Regions from separate parts of the Homo sapiens genome. Here region 2 is linked to region 1. Evidence: promoter capture Hi-C in 16 types of primary human blood cells and fetal thymus (Javierre and others, 2016). All regions are on one chromosome and are shown on one strand. Each heading gives the region's core, a stretch centred on a gene start or on the middle of the fragment in contact. The rest is flanking DNA. Distances are from core to core; before and after follow the strand shown.

Region 1 (7,323 bases), core at 4,117-6,616:
CTCGAGGGGGACCCAAAGGACTCACTGAGGAAGAGCAGTGTCCTCCCCACCTCGGCCAAATGAGCACAGTCTGTCCCCATCCACACAGCTTTCTCAAACCATCTATGTTTTGTTTTTTTCAAACATGTAATCCTTGAACAGATTCAGTTTCAAATCATAGCTAAGTTTATAAAGTAAACCATGCAAGTTCCCTTTTACTACCCTGTCCCTGTTAACAGCTGAATGTGCTGGACACTTCTTACCTCTGAGAAGGGATAATATTCTTCTGCAAAAAACTGAAATGCTAGGTAATGATTCACCACCACTAGTCCTGTTGAGGGAATGAAGAGTCAGTCAGTTTAAGGGGAATAACAGAAAGCTGTACTTTTAACTTCAAAAGGCCCTCAGAAGTTGGGAGCCTCCATGGAGTCTTAGGCCTGACTTTACACTCAACTCAGAGTAGGCTACTGCCTAGAACCGTTTCCCATCTGCTAAAATGGGAGAATGAGCCTCAACCTGCCCACTGCACAGGGCATTCTGAGTAAAATTAGAAGAAGGCTCTTTGCATGTTATAAAAGTGAGACTTCTATGTTACATAATCCAAAGCATCATGACGATGAACCTCGTTTTTCGTGGATGTGAGGGCTAAAGAAAGCTCTCCCACAGTGACAGGTGGGGAGAAATCATGGGTGTGCAGACCAGACGCCCCTAAGAGGCTCTACTCCAAACTCGCAGCAAGGAGAAGGCCTGCTCAAATAAACAAACTGGGCAGCAAGGAGAAGGCCTGCTCAAATAAAAAGGCTCTCACTCCTCAGGAATAAAAGGGCAAGACTTGCTAGATGCTTTGAGGTGCAGTCTTCAGGTTCCTCAACATTCTGGGGGAGGGGGTCCCTCCTCATCCTGCCCCCAGGTAAGGCATACCGGTGTGAACTGATACGTTCTGGACACACACACACACACAGCCACCCCTCCTTGGTGTGTAACTGAGTTTATAAAAGAGGGCACGTGTGCATATCCTGGACACAGGCTGCTCAAGAGACAGTCATCCCTGCCGGTTCCCATGGTGAGGTGAAGGGCAGGCACCAGAAAGAACATGTCCCCTGAAACTGACTGTCCCCTCACACACACCTCACAGCAATTCTCATGTCTCCTTTCTTCTCTCCTGCCTCTCCCATTCTAAGGCAAAGACTACAGTTCTGCTATGCCTAGCCACACTCTAGGGCTAAGAGATAATGGGAGGTAGGATAGTGCCTGGTGCCCACAAGATCTTTTGGAAAAACTCTTTTAGGCATTAAAGGGCAGATCAAGGGAGTGAAGTCAGGGGAGCCTGCTGCTGAGGGGCTGGGGGCAGGACTTCTTCCCTGGACAGAGGGGCCTGGTCTCCATGGAAGGGCTCCCTAACAAACCTCTGCTGAACAAATTCTTTGGTGAAATCACACCCAAGGAAGAAACCAGTTTTGGCTTTAACAATATGCCCTTTGTGTGGATAATATTCACCCTCCAGGCTCTCTCATAGAAATAGAAAAGTCACTCTAAAAAACCCCTAACTCCATCTGATACCCTGACTGAAAGCTAGGGTAGCCAGCAATGATGAACAGGAGCAATGGCAATCTTGGCAACCAAAATACTTTCCGAAGCCTTTTCCAGGAATATCTGTAAATACCTATATGCACCTACTATATGCCCACTGAGTCTCCCAATAGTTCTTTCAGAAACATCCTCTCTGAATAGATGGAGAAGCTAAGGCCCAGAGAGGGCCAATGATTCCCCAGGGTCAGAAAGTGGTGGCAGGGCAACGCCAAGAAGACTGGGTCCTCCACATCCAGGCTCAAGCCCGAGGCAGCGGCAGCCAGTGAGAATGAGATGAGAAGCTGCAGCCCCCAGGAGGCATTCACACCAGGCCAGAGTCTGCAAGGTGCTCACAGCCCCATGAGGCTCCAGTCCTAACAATGACTTTGGGTCAGAGGACTGGACGGACAGCTGCCTGCCTACCGGAAGGGCTTTGGGCTTTTTCTGGCCAAGTGGTTTTTTTGAGGCTGGAACTGCTCAGTTGGGGGCCCTGCCTCAGCCAATCCACAACCTCTTCTTTCCCAAACTCTCCTTCAAACTTACCTCTCTGGGAAAGCCCTCCCTGTCTGAGTCCCCAGCCCCAACAAATTCTATTCACTAGAGCCAAGGTGGGCTCTAGAGTCCTCAGCAGTAAGAACCGCATCTTCCCAACTAGCCTGGCTTCCTGGAGGACTTCAACAGCTGGCTTCCTTTTTCTGTATCCCCTTTAGTGCCCAGGATGGAGATGGGCACACCCAACCACATCAGCTGCCTCCCCAACTCTGTCCCCTCTCACCACACGACAGGATGAAGTTAGGCGAGGTCAGCATGATGAAGGGGAAGGTCTGGAGGAGGCCAAAGTAGACGAGGTTGGTGAATAGGCCCACTCCAATCATGCTGGTGGGGAAGCGCTCAAAGACGTAGAGGCCAATCAGTACAGCGGTGGAGAACTGAAACAACCAGAGGCAGACAGTGCAGGGCGCTTCTTCCAGGCAACGTTCCTGGACTCACCAACCCCCAGCCCGCTCTGGGCAGCACTAGGTTCATGCTTCAATCTCCTCATTTCACAGGTCTGGCCTCCCCAGCTAGGTTCTCTGCTCCCAAAAGGCAACATTTTTTTTTTTTTTTTTGAGACGGAGTCTCACTCTGTCATCCAGGCTGGAGTGCAGTGGCGCGATCTCCTGGATTCAAGCAATTCTCTTGCCTCAGCCTCCTGAGTAGTTGGGACTACAGGCATGCACAACCACGCCCAGCTAATTTTTGTGTCTTTAGTAGAGACAGGGTTTTGCCATGTTGGCCAGGCTGGTCTCAAACTTCTGATGGCCTCCCAAAGTGCTGGGATTACAGGTGTGAGCCACCGCACCCAGCCCATTTCTCAAACTTTTTGACAGCAACCCACAGTAAGAAAAACATCTGCCAGGCGAGGTGGCTCACGCCTGGAATCCCAACACTTTGGGAGGCCAAGGCAGGCAGATCACCTGAGGTTGGGAGTTTGTGACCAGCCTGACCAACATGGAGAAACCCCATCTCTACTAAAAATACAAAATTAGCCAGGCATGGTGGCACATGCCTATAATCCCAGCTACTCGGGAGGCTGAGGCAGGAGAATCGCTTGAACCCAGGAGGCAGAGGTTGCGGTGAGCTGAGATTGTGCCACTGCACTCCAGCCTGGGTAATAAGAGCGAAACTCCATCTCAAAAAAAAAAAAAGAAAAAGAAAAACATTTTACACTGTGACCCCAACACATATATACATATATATGATTCAAAGCTCAAATTTCAATTCTATTTATGTTCCTTTTTTTAAAAAATGCTGATTGTGACCTACTATACAGCCAAATAATGAATCATGCCTACAGTTTGAAAAACACTACTGATAAGTACCTACAGTTGTCAGTGCTTAGCAAATGACAGTTGGCTGAATGAAGGGCTAATTACTGTGCCAACACCCACAAGCTGGGCCTCTGGACCAGAGCTGAGGGCTATAGTCTTGCCTCCACTGTGAACTCCCAACCTCAGCCATGCCCAGAGTGCACATGGCTGCTGACACCAGGCGACTTGAGGGGCTGTGGACGCTTTCTCTCCAATGGCACCCCTACCCCCAGCCTTTCCTGCAGCTGAAGGAAGTCTGTCCACCAGCAGTCACCCCTATGGCTTTGATATCAGTGGCAAGGACTGTGTCTTCAGTAAGAGAAGCCTCCCATGAGACCAGGGAAGGGCGAGGGCAGCGAAGCTGTGCCGATCTTAGGACAAATCACTTGATCCGATTAGAAAGATGGCAATGAACATATATGCAAAACTGTCTTATGGCTCCTCTAAGTTTTAAATGCTGTGAGCAGAGCAAAGGGCTAAAGACAGCGGGAGAGAGCTAAGCAAAGTCAAATCTACGGTCTTGTCAACAGAGAAGTACACTTCGCTGTCACCTTAAGGACTAGAGCACAAGGCCTGCAGTGAAACAATGCCACTTGGGGAAGGCGGCCAGGGAAGATCTGGGCCCAGGAGTGCAGACCCAAAAGACAGCGTTCAGGGCAAGGAGGTAAGAGTGTATGCTCAGGAAACAGCAGAGACACAGGCCTCATCATCCATGCCAAACTCTCCCCACTTCCTGCTTTTGAGGCAGGGCAAAAGAGTGAGGAGGACTCCTGGAGAAAGATGCCACTTACCCAGATCATGTATTTTATGATCCTGCTGGTGGCCACTGTGTATTCTTCTATCAGTTCTGCCAGGTAATAGAGTCCAGCCGCTGCAGGGTGGGAGGCAGGGAGACTATCAGCCAGGGTCACTCCCACCATCCTGGTCACCCCTCTCTCTGCAGCCCAGTCCCCATCCACCCTTCATGGACCCCAGAAGGTCAAGAACAAACCAAACATCCCATGTGTTGCCCTTCCAAGTCTGGAGAAGTAAAACTTTCTTAGGGCAACTAAGGACAAATCTCATAAAAATCAACGAAAGTCTGCATTTGATGCCACAGTACAATGATAACCTCTGGCTCAGAAAACGGAATTTCACGTATTCAATAAACACCTGCTGGGCACTTGGCATGAGCCAGGTCCCTGGGCTGAGAATACAGCTGAAAAAGACAGACAAGGGTCCTTCCCTGACCCAGCTTGGGAAAGGGAAGGGGAACAGTAGGGAGAGACAGACGAGTTTAGTGTGAGAAATGCTACTTTAGGGAAAGGACAGGGCACTGCTGGACCATCAACCCCTGTGGACTTCCCGGAAAAGATGACATCTCAACTGAGGCCGAATGGGAACCAGCCAGAGGAGAAGTGTCAAAGGTGGAGAGAGCAGGGAGCATGAAGGGCCAGAGGCGCAAAGGCGGCGGTAGGCGTTGGGGAAAAGTTCCGCGCGGCAGGCCCGCGAAGAGTGGGAGCCGCAGCGGTTAGCGGTCCGCAGACGCGGGGGCGGCACTCGAGTCACCCTTTCTCGGGCAGTGCCGGAGCGGACTCTGTGACACCTGGAAGGAGCCACGGTCAGGCCGGGCTGCCAGGCTCGACAGGAGGGGCAGGATCAGGCGGGAAGGGGTTGGGGCGGCGAAGGCCGGGAGCGCCGGGCAGTGGTCCCCCGAGTGGCTCCGAAACCCCCGCGATGCGACCCCCAACGAGCACCGATGCCGGGGCGGGAGCCCGCGCGGGCCGGGGTCGTGCAGTCTCACCGACAGCCAGCGTGATGAAGGCCACCTGGATGAAGAGCGACAGCCAGCTCAGCAGGTACATGAACCACATGGCGCCCCCACCCGCCCGCTCCCCGGCCACCGGGACGGGCCTGCGCGCTTCGGCTCCGGCGACACACAGCCGCCACCGCCGCCGCCGCCGCCGCGTCCCCGCCCCGCGGACGACAGGACGACGGTGCGCCGCCGCCGAGAGGAGCCCGGCCCTAGCGCTGCCCGGGGCCAGGCTCGCGCTAGCGCCGCCCGCCGGAGAGGAGGGCCAACCGCCGCTGCCCCGCCAGGATCCCCCGCTCCACTGAGGGGAATGAATGCAGACCGCTGCAGCCAGAGGGAGGCGGGACGGTGCCCAGGGGCGGAGACGACCAAGCGCCCATACTGGGGCTCGGAGTGCAGCCTCCAGTCCCTCCCTGTGCACTCCCGTACCAGCCTGGAGGTGGTCCAGGGCCGGACAGGGCCGCCCGACCGCGCCCCAGCAACCTCCCCAGAACCTGCCTCCCGGCAGGTTGCGGACAAGTCTGTCTCTTGCTATCGCAGGTGATAGGGACAAAATTATTGAATTCCTAATATGTGCCACGCTCTGTGATAAAGGCGAGGTGTGTTCTTGTCGGAAATTTGAGCAGATAATGTAAATCATTTTATAGACGGGGAAGCCGGGGCCAAAGGAAGTTGCCCTGGGTCATGCACCTAGGAAGCGGCACAATCAGGAGTTGGGGTGATTTTAATCGGTCATCCTCCGGCCTAATTCCCCTCTAGGCTGTTCTTTTGGGGTACATTCTGCACCTTTGTATCGCCTGCACCTCACCCCTTGCCGGGCACGCAGGGCGTCCGCTAGGCGCTGGATGCATTTACTACACCTCTGGGAGGGTTCCTGAGGGGCACCTGGAACCGGTTAGTCCTTGTCAACAAGTCTCCCATCTAGTGGCGGAGACAGGCATGCAAAATAAAGTATGTAGAACAAGAGTCTAGTAGGCTTATTTCAGAATCATATTTTTCCTGCATAAAAATACGTATTCCTAAAAAAAACAATTACCGTATGATTTAGCAATTCTACTTCTGGGTATATACCCAAAAGAACTGAGAAAGCAGAGACATTTGTATACCAATATTCATAGCATTATTCACAATGGTCAGAAGAGGGAAGCAACCCAAATGTCCATCGGTTGACGAAAAGATAGACATAAAGTGCTATAAACATACAATGGAATATTATCTAGCCTTAAAATGAAGTGAAATTCTGACACATGCTACAACATCAATGAACCTTGAAGGCATGATGCTAAGTGAAATAAGCCAAATAGGGAAGGACACACATTGTATGATTCCCCTCATATGAGGTACCCAGAGTAGTCAAAATCATGGGCAGAAAGTTAAATGGTGCTTGCCAGGGTCTGGGGGACAAAGAATGGGGAGTTACTTTTTAATGGATACAGGGTTTCAGTTTGGGAAGATGGATGGTGCTGATGGCATCACAACAGTGTGAATGTGCTTAATGTCACTGAATTGTATACAGTGTTACAGAATTGTAAAATGGTTAAAACGGTCAATTTTATGTTATGCATAGCTTCCCCCTCCCCCCAACAAAATACATAAGATTACAAAGCCCATCCTGGCTAACACGGTGAAACCCAGTCTCTACTAAAAATACAAAAAATTAGCCGGGCTTGGTGGCGGGCGCCTGTAGTCCCAGCTACTCAAGAAACTGAGGCAGGAGAAGAGCGTGAACCCGGGAGGCAGAAGTTGCAGTGAGCCGAGATTGCGCCACTGCACTCCAGCCTGGGCGACAGAGCGAGACTCCGTCTCAAGAAAAAAAAAAAAAAAAAGATTACAAAGCAGGCTGGGCACAGTGGCTCATGCCTGTAATCCCAGTACTTTGGGAGGCTGAGGTAGGAGGATCACTTGAGGCCAGGAGTTCAAGACCAGCCTGGGCAAAGAAAAATTTTAAAATGGCCAGGCATGGTGGTGCGTACCTGTAGTCGCAGTTACTCTGGGCTGAGGCAGGAGGATTACTTGAGTCCAGGAGATGGCGGCTGCAGTGAGCTATGATTGGGCCACTGCATTCCAGCTGGGATGACAGAATGAAAACTTGTCTCAAAAAAAAAAAAAATTGCAGTTGCCGGGCGCGGTGGC
Region 2 (6,846 bases), core at 2,969-5,468, 46 kb before region 1:
CAACCAGCCCCACTCCCTCAGCCTCCCACCCCACCTCCTAGCTGAGCAAACTGGAAGTCTCGGTGCCCCTTTGACCCCTCTTGTCCCAGACCCCACACCTGCCAGCGCCCATGTCTGTAGCTCCCTCCCACCCCACTGCTACCTTGTGATGGCGATGGCCTTGGGCTCCCAGCCTGGCACCCTCCTATCCTGTCTCCATCCTCCAGCCCTTCAGACCTGACCCTTGCATCAAATTTGCCCAGGGCTCTCCAGTGCCCTCAGCTTACAGGTCTTTTCTTTTTTTTTTTTTTTTTTGAGACGGAGTCTCACTCTGTCCCCCAGGCTGGAGTGCAGTGGCGCAATCTCGGCTCACTGCAAGCTCCGCCCTCCAGGTTCACGCTATTCTCCTGCCTCAGCCTCCCGAGTAGCTGGGACTACAGGCACCCGCTACCACGCCCAGCTGATTATTTGTTTTTTAGCAGAGACGGGGTTTCCCCGTGTTAGCCAGGATGGTCTCGATCTCTTGACCTGGTGATCCGCCCGCCTCGGCCTCCCAAAGTGCTGGGATTACAGGCGTGAGCCACCGTGCCCAGCTGCTTACAGGTCTTTTCTATGAGGGTGCCTGCAAGCCTTTCCACTCACTCTCATCACTCTCCCTTCCCTGTGTAGAAACCAACACCTGAAATAGTGTCTGCATGGGGCTGCCATTTGAGATCTCTGGGCACTTGCATGTCATTTTTTAAAAATGTGATCAGTAATGTATGTTTATTAACAAATTAAATTACGAGATGTCACCGCCAGTTTCACTGCTATAATTTTAAAGCAGTGATGAGCACAAATACTATTTTGAGATACCTGCAACGACTGTAATGTGGTATGAAAATATCTGTGATTTCTGATGGTAACAAAGTCACAGGTACCGTGGAAATGCTAATTCTACCGTGGTTTGTTCCTTACATTCAGAACTAGAGGAAACACTAAATTTGCGTAAACGTTAATGAATGTAAAAATGTAACTTTCCCATTCAAGATCACAGAAGCCCTGAGTTCTCTCTGTAGACTCTGAGATAGGTTCTAGGCAAAGAACCCTTCTCACAATTAGTTGGACAAGAGGATAGAGTATGTAGAAAGGAATGACAAAGAATGGGGGATTGTGTCTGTGCATTTTATAATAGACACACAATAATTGTACATATTCCTGAGGTACACAGTGATGTTTTGATACATATAATGCATAGTGATCAGGTCAGGGCAATTAGCATATCCATCATCTCCAGCATCCTTTCTTTGTGTTGGGAATATTAGTATCCTCTTTCTGGCTATTTGAAGAGATATATATATATATATATATATATATATATATATATATATAGTTGTTAACTACAGTCATCCTATTGTGGTATAGAACACTAGAACTTATTGCTCCTGGCTAGCTGTAATTTTGTGCACAGATTTTTCCCTCTGCCTCCTAGACTACACTTCCCCCTATTCCCTCCCTCTGACTCATCCCCAGGGTTGAGAGGTCACCTTCTCCTGGATGCCTCTCCCTCTTCTCTACTTTTTGTGGTTTTATTAGTGGCATCCACTGAGGTATTTGGTCAAGATCTGGCCATGTATCTCCTCCCTACCCTTCCCCACACACACCGTGCCCTGCTATTGGCCATGAACTGTGTTTTGTTCATCTTCAGCTCCAGAAGCCCAACACAGCATTTTTACTGAACACATAGGCTATAGTAGGTGCTCAGCATGTTTGCTCAAAGGAAAGGTGAGTACATTAATGAGATAAATGAATGAATAAATGTTAGCATGACTAGCTATGCACCTGTCAAAACCTGAGCCAACAATATTAAATAAATCAGACCCATTCTTTGCTAACAAACAGATTCTGAGTTCATACGGACATTACCACTTGACCCCCCAGTGTAAGGGACGCCCCAGGAGGAAGTGTGGCTGAGTAGTTAAGTGCAGCACACTGGGTTTGGATTTTAATCCCAGATCCATCCCACTCTTTTCTGCTAGCTACATGCCAACCCTAGATCAACAGCATTAGCACTGCCCAGGAACGTGTTAGAAATACAAATTCTTGGGCTCCACCTCAGACTGACAGAATCAGAAGCTCTGGGGGTAGGGCCCAGAAGTCTGTCCTCACAAGCCTTCCAGGTGAACTGATGCTCAAGTTAGAGAACCATCAATCTCGGATTGTAAATCCCAGTTTCCTCATCTATTAAATAATAATAGGATTATTGTGAGGTTCACATCAGACAAATGTAGTATTATTCTCCCTTGAGAATAGCCAGCAATGTTTCTGCCTGGAATGCAGAAATGCTAATAAGCCTGATTCAACAGTTGGTGCCACCTCCTGCCCCCTCTCCACCTCCACCACACTCTCCACCAGACCTGCCATTCTCCATGGGACCCAGTGTGGCATGGAGTCGGAACCTATACAGGTGTCCATTTTCTCCACTGTAAAATGAGGCCGATCTAGGAAACCAGAACTAGGTCCCCAGACCTGTGGTTTTGCGACTATCGGATGCATCTGTAGCTTTGGCAGAGAAAAATAATTGGGTGGTGGAGGCACCTCTCCCCATCCCTCTCCGTTGCCCCTACCCCTTTCCCTCTACCAGGATTTGGCAAATGCTACAATTCTGTTTCTACAGCGCCACCTTCTGCCCACATTGAATCACACAGGCAATTACTCTTCCTGCTTCCGTCCTCAAATGTAAGAACATTTGAGGGAAGAATTTTGTGTAGATCAGAGGTTCTTAGCCCAAGGAATTAGGCCCTTGAAATTGTGTGCAGACCTTTGAAGGTATGCATGAATGTGCCTGTGCATTTTTCTGGTAGGAGTTTCTACAGTTTCGTCTGATTTTTCAGGGTTCGTGACCCAGAAAAGTCTAACTCTCTGATTTGTATAAGTTGAACAAGCATCAGAATATCAGGGGTGCAGGGGGCTTGTTAACAGGCAGATTGCTAGGCCCCACCCCAGAGCTCTGATTCAGCATGCCTGGGGTAGGAGGCCCAAGAATGTACATTTCTATCAAGTTCCTAGGTGATGCTGCTGGTATGGGGACCACACGGAGAACCTCTGTTCTAGAGAATCTTCTGACTCCTGTAGTCTGTGATTCAAATTGGTCCCTGTTTGAGAATTGGAGTAAGCACTCACCTTAACCACCAGACTCCATCCCCAATGTCTGTGGCTGCTTTCAAAAGAGTCTGCATCAGCTCTGAAGACAATTTCCAAAGAGGAGCCTCCGCACTGCCCTGGCCATTGTCAGCAGGAGGGACCTTAGAGGCAGCATTCCTGTGCACAAATCCCGACAGGCTTGCTAAGAACTTCCAGTCCTCCGTGTGTAGACAGCAGCTCCCCTGTGCCTGGCCACTTGCTGGTTGAGAGCTCAGTTGAATCTCCAGCACGGGGTTACATTGCACTGAGTCATGCCCTCTTCCTGCAGCCCTCTTAGTAACCGACATCAACCGAGTTGATGGGATCAGGCCTGCTCAGTATGCGGCTGGGAAATAGGGCCCCTTAAGATACAAGCTCCTGGACTAGCTATCCCCCACGGGAATTCTCCCAGGTACCCACTGCCATAACTGGTCATGAGATCCCACCACCAACAACAATAACGACGAACATCCAGCACACACTTAGAGCCTGGGGCTCTTCCTAAAGGTTCCAGACACTACACCCTCCATGCCTGAGTGTGAAAACCTGATGGCCCTTCCCCAGATCTGACCACAATTTCTGCCATTTAAAGTTCATTTTCTCTGATTTTGTCCTTCAGGGACACAGAACGCACCACTCTCCTCTCCACTCTCCTCTCCTGCCACCCTCCCTCTCTCACCCACATAAACTCACATGAAAATGATCACTTTTTTTTTTTCTTTTTGAGACGGAGTCTTGCTCTGTCGCCAGGCTGAAGTGCAATGGCACGATCTCTGCTCACTGCATCCTTCTTCTCCCGGGTTCAAGCGATTTTCCTGCCTCAGCCTCCCGAGTAGCTAGGACTACAGAAAATGATCACTTTTAAATCACTCCACCGCCTGATTTCTTTGGGGCACACTCTGGCCTGTGTTCTGTACAGCAACTTTTCCCCTGAGGTTGAAACAGCCCTCCGTCACCTCCAGGGAGATGACAAATAATGAGGCAGGGCCCGTTTCGTATCGAAACACAGGTTATCAGAGTGGGAGAGGAAAACGAGCCGGGACGTGTGTTCCACGCGTTTCCCAGGCCCTCGCTGTCCGTGCTCCTGGGCTCCCTCTTGTGGTTGAGAACCCAAGACGCCTGGGTGTTCGGAGCTCCTCCCACCTCGGAGCCCTCCTCCCCGGCCGGCCTAGTGCTGAAGCCCCCACTCCGCAAGGCTGAGGGGTGGTTTGGGGAACCACAGGTCACCTTCCTGGCATCCTCTTCACAGGACAAGGGAGGACTCAAGGTAGCGCTCCCTTCCGTGTGATTGTCAGGGCTGCAAACCTAGTCTCAAGTTCGACCAGCAGGGGTTCCCTGGCGGAGTGGTCCCTACTTGGTCACACCTTGCTGGGGAATTGGACCCTCCGCCCCAACCCGCAAGCCCTTAAGGTCACTAGTTTGTGGCCAGTAGGTGATATAACGATAGTAATGATGATGATAATCACCAGCACTGTGCTGTAACATGTCCTAAAAATGTATTATATTTTAATTGCAAAAATAATACATGCTCCTTGTAACTTAGTGAAAAAGAGGAAAGACACGTAAAGTTAACTATCTGCCCCTAACCGCTTTATTCTCAGCCCCGAAAGACCCTGCTGAATACGCTCAAACACAGGCAAATATGTTAGAGGTTGACCTCGGGGTCAGTCCCTTGAGAGCCAAGGGACTGACAGTGGATCCACTGACAGTGTCAGCGGATACACATTTTACGCATTCTTTTGGATACTGGCATAGCAGGCGATAGTATGGATGTACTGTAACTTACTCAATAGTCCCATTATTGACAGACATTCGTATGTTCTCAGGTTTTGCCATTACAAATAGTACAATATTGTATCCCTTTTAAACGGACGCTTTTGTGGTTATAGGATAGATTCCCAGAAGTGGAATTGCTGGTTCAAGTACTTTTTTATTTCAAATTAGATATTGACAATTTGGGGCAAGATGGCTTGCCCAGAAGGGTTGTGGTAATTCACATTTCCACCAACCAGGTATGAGAGGACCCACTTCCCCACATCCTTGCTGGCCCTGAATATGTTCTCTCTGTAGTTTTACCTATCTAATAAATGAAAACTAGTACTGTCTCGCTTTTATTTACATTTCTCTGATAACTAGGAAAGTTGAGTGTCTGTCCATATGTTTACCATTTTGATTTTGCTTCCTTCTCCGTGAAATCTTCCTACCAAGCAAGTTGTGCATACGGGAGCTCCTTGTTTATTGCTCACAGGCTATCTTTTGCAACAATAAATGAAACAAAGATTTCATCTATTGTGTCTCTGCCATACAGAAGTTTGAAATACTCATATGATCAAATATTTTTTGTTTATACCTTCTGAATTTCTTGTCTTGCTTAAAGACATTGCTCATCTGTCTTTTAATTGGATTATTCAGAAAGATAGGAAAGAAGAAAAGCTCTTCCAGTATTTTTTAAAAATTGTTTTTACTTTATATTTAAATTTTTTTTACATGCCTGGAATGTATTTGGGTTTATGATGTGGTTATCTTCTAACTAGATATCCTCTTATGTTCTATATATTATTTCCCCTCTGAGAATTAATTAATATACAACATTTGTTCTATAATAGTCCTATAAAATCTGGGATCTCCTTCTGGACTTTTTTTCTTTCCTACTGATCCATTTGTCTACCTCATATCAATTTACTGCTTGACTTCAGTAGCTTTATAACAAGTTTTAATATCTGAAAAGGCAAGTCCTCTATCTCTGATCTTTTTCATAACTACTTTGGCTATTCTCAGACATTTATGTGAACTTTAAAATAATTTTATTAAATTTTAAAATAAACAATAATCCATTAGGGTTGGATCAAATTTATATACTTTTCAAAAGGATTAATGTTTTTATGCTAGTAACTAAGAACATTAAGACAATAATGTTCTTCATTGTTTAGGACTTGTTTTATGTTATTCCATAATTTTTTTTTGTACCTTTCTTGTTATATTTATTTCTAGCTATTTTATGAGTTTTGGCCCTATTGCAGATGGGATGGTTTTCTCCGTTGCCTCTTCTAACTGGTTACTACTAAAATAGAAAAAAAAGGAGGGGGGGAATGATTTTTAAATATTTATCTTATAAACAGCCAAATTATCTTATTCATTCTAAAACCTTCTTTCTAAACCAGAACCTCTTGAGTCTTTCTAAATGTATAATATAATCTGCAAATAAAGGGAATTATGTCTCTTTTTCCGTCAGTATACTTTTACTTTACTTTTTATTTTGAAACAATTTCAATTTTATAAAAATTTGCAAAGATAAAAATAGTAGTAGGAACATCCATGTCACCAACGGTTAATATATTATCTCATTTGCTCTATCATTTGCTCTCCATGTGTGACTGTGTGTGCATAATTTTTTCCTGATTTTTTTTTTTTTTTTTTTTTTTTTTTGAGACGGAGTTTCACTCTTGTTGCCCAGGCTGGAGTGCAGTGGCAAAATCTTGGCTCACTGCAACCTCCAGCTCCCCGGTTCAAGCGATTCTTCTGCCTCAGCCTCCCGAGAAGCTGAGATTACAGGCGCCCTCTACCACGCCTGGCTAATTTTTGTATTTTTAGTAGAGACAGGGTTTCACCATTTTGACCAGGCTGGTCTCGAACTTCTGACCTCAGGTGATCTGCCCGCCTCGGCCTCCCAAAGTGCAGGGATTACAGGCATGATCCACTGCGCCC

The links. The method cuts DNA at HindIII sites, captures the fragments that hold promoters and counts their contacts. A CHiCAGO score of 5 or more calls a contact.
Region 2: a contact is called between the fragment with the promoter of ATP6V1B1-AS1 here and the fragment with the promoter of TEX261 in region 1, in 1 of 17 cell types (erythroblasts). The highest score is 5.8, in erythroblasts.

What each region holds. Positions count from the first base shown.
Region 1 is chr2:70,989,507-70,996,829 of GRCh38, forward strand. It overlaps TEX261 (testis expressed 261), which reads right to left and starts at 5,367. Exons shown (of 6, transcript NM_144582.3): 1 at 5,182-5,367; 2 at 4,190-4,269; 3 at 2,324-2,477; 4 at 243-310. The coding sequence starts at 5,251. RefSeq lists silencers at 4,939-5,028, 5,059-5,588 and an enhancer at 6,129-6,178. The HindIII fragment of the contact is 23,402 bases long and covers 1-7,323 here.
Region 2 is chr2:70,944,393-70,951,238 of GRCh38, forward strand. It overlaps ATP6V1B1-AS1 (ATP6V1B1 antisense RNA 1), which reads right to left and starts at 4,219. Exons shown (of 2, transcript NR_110274.1): 1 at 3,835-4,219. All of the region lies in intron 2 of ATP6V1B1 (ATPase H+ transporting V1 subunit B1), which reads left to right. The HindIII fragment of the contact is 10,354 bases long and covers 1-6,846 here.